2 separate regions of the Homo sapiens genome follow, and region 1 is linked to region 2. The links are contacts of gene promoters, found by promoter capture Hi-C in blood cells and fetal thymus (Javierre and others, 2016). All regions are on one chromosome and are shown on one strand. The core of a region is centred on a gene start or on the middle of the fragment in contact, and the rest is flanking DNA. Distances in the headings are between cores, read along the strand shown. Region 1 has its middle 24 kb from the start of BEND3. Region 2 holds the start of SCML4 (Scm polycomb group protein like 4).

Region 1 (2,914 bases), core at 83-2,582, 680 kb after region 2:
TCTCCGCTCACTGCAGCCTCCACCTCCTGGGTTCAAGCAATTCTCCTGCCACAGCCTCCCTAGTAGCTGGGACTACAGGCGCATGCCCCAACACCCAGTTAAGTTTTGTAATTTTAGTAGAGACGGGTTTCACTATGTTGGCCAGGATGGTCTTGGTCTGCTGACCTCGTGATCCACCCGCCTCGACCTCCCAAAGTTCAATTTTCTTAAAAGTGACCACCAACACCATCAACATATGTTTATAGACTAGATGTATCACTTGTTTACCCAAATTGTAGCATAAATATCTGTTTTTAGAAAGCTTTTCCATAAGTCTTTCTATATGATTGGATTATTAAGCAAGGCTATGATTAGGAAATAAACCACTTTCCCCTTTAGCTAGTTCTAATGAAAGCTTTCCAAATTAAACACTGTGTTTGAACACTTCTTCCATTCATAGCATGTGCTCATCAAAAAGTGCTTTCCGTTTCTGGTATGTCAACTGTACTATTTATAACCTAGTTAACAAAGCCAACTAAAGGCAGTAAAAGGTGTGTATTTCATATGCAAATTCCTAGCAATAATTTCTACAGTTACATATAGTTGCTTGCTCCGTTATGTTCAACATCAGCGTTATAAAACTGATTACAGGAAGGAGAAAATAATACTAAAATTATATTTTTATATTCCTTAATGGGTTTTTATTAAATACATTAGAAAGATAAATAGTACAAAATGGAAGTAGCCCTGATTTATAATGGACGTTTTTGCAAAGTGACTGATGACCTGTTATAGTAACTGTGCAGAGGAAGAAAATCACTGTGTGACATAGGCTCTTTCTATTTTGTCTCCAAATTTGTGTTTCCTTTTTTTGTTTTTTTGTTTGTTTGTTTGTTTGTTTGTTTGTTTGTTTTTGAGATGGAGTTTTTGCTATTGTTGCCCAGGCTGGAGTGCAATCTCAGCTCACCGCAACCTCCGCCTCCCAGGTTCAAGCGATTCTCCTGCCTCAGCCTCCCAAGTAGCTGGGATTATAGGCATGCGTCACCACGCCCAGCTAATTTTATATTTTTAGTAGAGTCGGGGTTTCGCCGTGTTGGTCAGGCTGCTCTCGAACTCCTGACCTCAGGTGATCCGCCCGCCTTGGTCTCCCAAAGTGCTGGGATTACAGGCGTGAGCCATCGCGCCCGGCTCAAATTTGTGTTTCCTTAACAATCCTCTTTGCTTCTTTATTTTACCAGATTGTGATTCCCCTGACTTAGAAACCATCAACGGAAAAATAAGAGGCCGGGCGCGGTGGCTCACATCTGTAATCCCCGCACTTTGGGAGGCCGAGGCGGGCAGATCATGATGTCAGGAGATCGAGACCATCCTGGCTAACACAGTGAAACCCTGTCTCTACTAAAAATACAAACAAAAGTCAGCTGGGCATGGTGGCACGTGCCTGTAGTCCCAACTACTCCGGAGGCTGTAGGCGGAGGTTGTAGTAAGCCGAGATCACGCCACTGCCCTCCAGCCTGCGTGACAGAGTGAGACTCCATCTAAAAAAAAAAAAGAAAAAGAAGTAAGAAACCAGGATAAGTTAATGCCTTCTTTTCATTGACATTTATTAAGTGTTACTATGTGCATAGCACTGCCTTGGATACAAAGGTAAACCATAGAATGAGATTATTTGTGTCTTTCCCACTATACTGTGGGCTTCTTGGGATCAGATTCTCTTTGAAAATAGTGGAAGATAACCAATGGAATAAACAGATCTGGGTTCAAATCCTAGCTTCTTGGCTGGGCGTGGTGGCTTATGCTTGTAATCCCAGCACTTTGGGAGGTCGAGGCAGGTGGATCGCTTGAGGCCAGGAGTTCGAGGCCAGCCTGGCCAATATGGTGAAACCCCATCTCTACAAAAAATACAAAAATTAGCTGGGCGTGGTGGCGTACGCCTGTAGTTCCACCTACTCAGGAGGCTGAAGCACGAGAATCACTTGAGCCTGGGAGACGGAGGTTGCAGTGAGCAGAGATCCAGCCACTGCACTCTAGTCTGGGCAACAGAGCGAGACTGTCTCAAAAAAAACAAACAAAACAAAACAAAAAAACCTCAAATCCTAGCTTATCTATCAGGTGTGATGAGACAAATTCTCCAGGTTTCTTCTTCCTTTCTTGTGGAATTGGATAGTCGTGCTTACTAGTAAAGAATAGCTGCTAATTGCCTGAAGGCACCAATCACTGTACCTACCACAGAGGGTGCCATTCGATAAATGCTGTTAAAGGAAATGTGTTTTTATAACAATGAAGCTTAGGCTGGGCGCGGTGGATCATGCCTGTAATCCCAGCACTTTGGGAGGCCGAGGCGGGCGGATCACAAGGTCAGGAGATAGAGACCATCCTGGCTAATATGGTGAAACCCCATCTCTACTAAAAAAAATACAAAAAATTAGCCAGGCGTTGTGGCGGGCGCCTGTAGTCCCAGCTACTCGGGAGGCTGAGGCAGAAGAATGGCATGAACCCGGGAGGCAAAGCTTGCAGTGAGCCGAGATCGCGCCACTGCACTCCAGCCTGGGCGACAGAGCGAGACTCCATCTCAAAAAAAAAAAAAAAAAAAACAATGAAGCAAGCAAGTAAAATAGAGTAATAGTAAAGGAACACTGGTTTACAAACTCTAATCAGAAGAATACAGGTTATAAAATAGGTCTAGAGACTTCTTTGAACATAAAGGACAGGACCTGGCACGGTAGCTCACGCCTGTAATCCCAGCACTTTGGGAGGCCGAGGCGGGTGAATCACCTGAGGTCAGGAGTTGGAGACCAGCCTGGCCAATATGGAGAAACCCCGTCTCTACTAAAAATACAAAATTAGCCAAGCATGGTGGTGCATGCCTGTAATCCCAGCTACTCGGGAGGCTGAGGCAGGAGAATTGCTTGAACCCAGGAGGCGGAGGTTGCAG
Region 2 (2,901 bases), core at 370-2,869:
GGAGTCTCGCTCTGTCACCCAGGCTGGAGTGCAGTGGCACGGTATCGGCTCACTGTGAGCTCCGCCTCCCGGGTTCACGCCATTCTCCCTCCTCAGCCTCCCAAGTAGCTGGGACTACAGGCGCCCGCCACCACGCCCAGCTAATTTTTTGTATTTTTAGTAGAGACGGGGTTTCACCATTCACAGGATGGTCTCGATCTCCTGACCTCGTGATCCACCCGCCTTGGCCTCCCAAAGTGCTGGGATTACAGGCATGAGCCACTGCACCTGGCCCATCCATCTTATTTTCTTTTCTTCTCCTCTTCCTCCTTCTTTAGTGAAATCAACTTATATGAAATGAAAATGCAAACTACCAAACCTGCCTTTTCCCATACAAAACAACAAAATTTGATGATTAAATGAACTAAAGTAGTGAATTTCTTCTTGCTCAATTAATTACAAGGCTTTGACTTAAAACAATTTTTTATATTTTCATAATAAATTTCAGAGGAGAGATTTCTTATGTACTTCTAATGTGACTCTACACATATATTTAGAGAAACCTCAAGTTGTCCATTGCAGTTTTTTTCACTCTCAGTAACTGGCCAGGTTGTGGCCTAAGCCTTCGTTAGCCCTGGTTGATATTTAGTCCCGGCTAAATTTGTTTGCTGCTCATCCCTAGGAGTAAGCCACATGTTTGTAGAATGGATGTTTCATCTTGTAGGAAATACCTGTGAATATGCCAATATCCCAGAGTGGATGAAATGGGCAATGGGGAGCCCTGCTCCACTTTACAAAAAGAAAGGAAAAGAAAAGATCCCTTCGCCGATATATATTGATTTGCTGCAGAAAATGCAATGGGGCATGGGAATGAATAGTCACTCTTGCCCTGTTTCTATCCTGTGCAGGTCCCACCACGTTGAGGTGGGTAGAGATGCTTACACACACACACATACAGGCCTGGAGCCAAAGTCAGGGCCGGCTTTAATGAACTGTACACATATGTTGTGGGCAGCCGCTGATTTAATATGTACAACCATGGTGTGTGCACACACCTGGATAGGCACACTGCTCTGGGAATCACACAGGGTCTCCTGAACAATGATGCTATTGTAATATTTCTTTTTGTTTTATTTGTCCAAAGTCAAACATTCACTCTGTCAGATCACCAGTGTCTTATAAGCCTGGTGTTGGCCCACACTGCTGCAGGATTGGGACAAAGAGACGATGTTACAGTCTGGTTTCTATGGCAACAGAGGAGGGGTAATGAAAACTGAAATGTTGGAAACACCCATTCTAACCATTGTGACATAATTCAGGTTATTACAAGGATGTAACTACCAAAGAAGCAGAAGTGTCATTACCTTGCAGCTCATGTCGACAAAAAGCTACACTGCACATTTCTCTTAGGCTGCTAAGAGGAAGGAAACACAAAACACACACACACACACACACACACACACACACACACACACACACACACACACACAGAGGCCTCGTTTTCTGCATGTAAAATGTGTGTGTTCTTTAAAAGCCAGTGGTTGGCTGGTTTTCCGGACATGATGTGGTTGAAGCTGTCATCGTAATGGAAATTCATTGCTGTAGCTATGGTAAATCGAGTTTTCTGCCTGTGCTGAATGCATTAGTCTAATGAGATGTTTGCAGCTGGAGCGCAGGGCTGCTGGAGACTAACTGTGAGCTACTAACACGGGTGGAAGATAGCTTTTGCAATACTCGGTTTGCATGTGCTGAAAGTCATCTGTCTTCTGAGTCAACACTCCCGACCTGGTAAACAACCTGCTCAGGGCTCTGGTGAACAAGCTGTAGGTAAGGGAGATGCACAATTGGAGGCGTGCCGTTGACACGGGATCTTTCTCTTGTAACTGTCAGCATGACAGGTTACCTGTTTCAGTTTTTTCTGGGTTGCATGCCTACCTCTATGGCAACGCACAAGAGTGTCCTGCACTAAAACCACTGAGTCCAGTAGGTAAACTTTAGTTCCTCATATGCAAAGTACAGCATTTAATTTATTAACCAGATCTCAGAGGGGAAAATGTAACATTGAATTATATAGTTTATAAATTTGGGCTATATACATGTTCATTACTCTTTAACTCTGCATTTAAATACCTAGAAAGTTATTTTTTTCCAAATGTGAACTCAAGTAACCGGTTAGTTATTTTTTCCCTTCACGATAATTTTGCTTTGTTTTGCTTTTTAATTTTAAAAAAATTGTACTATGTCTTGGGATAAAAATATTTACCTAAAATTTGGTTATTAAAATTGGTATGTTATGAACATGTAAAAGTGTTTTTTTTCCCATTTAATTTTATTTCAAATATCCCAGGTAGAATATTTCACATGTCTTTGTGCTGGTTTTTCCTAATTTATGAGGCATAAATAAGAATAATATTTACTGCTAGTTTCTGGTTTTAATTCGTTTTTTGGGAAAAAAACTGGTGACTATGGAGTATTAGCGGCAGTTTTCCCAAGCTCAAAATCACCTCCTTCCCAGGTGGAGCACTGTGACTTGAACCAGCTTCCACGTGCTCCTCCCAAAGCATGAGGGGTCCTCTCCAGGTTGATTGCTGGCTGGACAGGAGCGGTGGATGAGGCCAGGGTGCAGGCTGCTGAGCTGTTTTGCTGAGTTGAGGTGCTTGAGTCAAAGTTCTTTCCACTATCTGTGATCGTGAACGAGAGGTGTCTCCTCGTGTTGTCTCTAGATTCCATGACGGTACTCATGAGGGTTAGACAATCAGTGGCTTTCTGAGAAAGTGGTTTTTTACTGATCTCAGACACTACAGTACTTGAGAAAGTAATCCAGGCACTTCAGAATCAGGGTATTTGTTATATGCTGTTTTTCTTTCTTTTCAACCAGAGGAACCATTTTTGAAGAATGAGGGATATAGCTGCTTTTTTTCT

What was found. Contacts are between HindIII fragments. The CHiCAGO score rates a contact against its expected background, and 5 or more counts as called.
Region 1: a fragment that was not itself captured here is called in contact with the fragment with the promoter of SCML4 in region 2 in 1 of 17 cell types (erythroblasts); the score reaches 5.1 in erythroblasts.

What each region holds. Positions count from the first base shown.
Region 1 is chr6:107,138,343-107,141,256 of GRCh38, reverse strand. No RefSeq gene overlaps it. Among named protein-coding and RNA genes, the nearest start is that of BEND3, 24 kb to the right of the region's middle. The HindIII fragment of the contact is 1,871 bases long and covers 397-2,267 here.
Region 2 is chr6:107,823,031-107,825,931 of GRCh38, reverse strand. It overlaps SCML4 (Scm polycomb group protein like 4), which reads left to right and starts at 1,619. Exons shown (of 8, transcript NM_198081.5): 1 at 1,619-1,806. The HindIII fragment of the contact is 8,468 bases long and covers 1-2,901 here.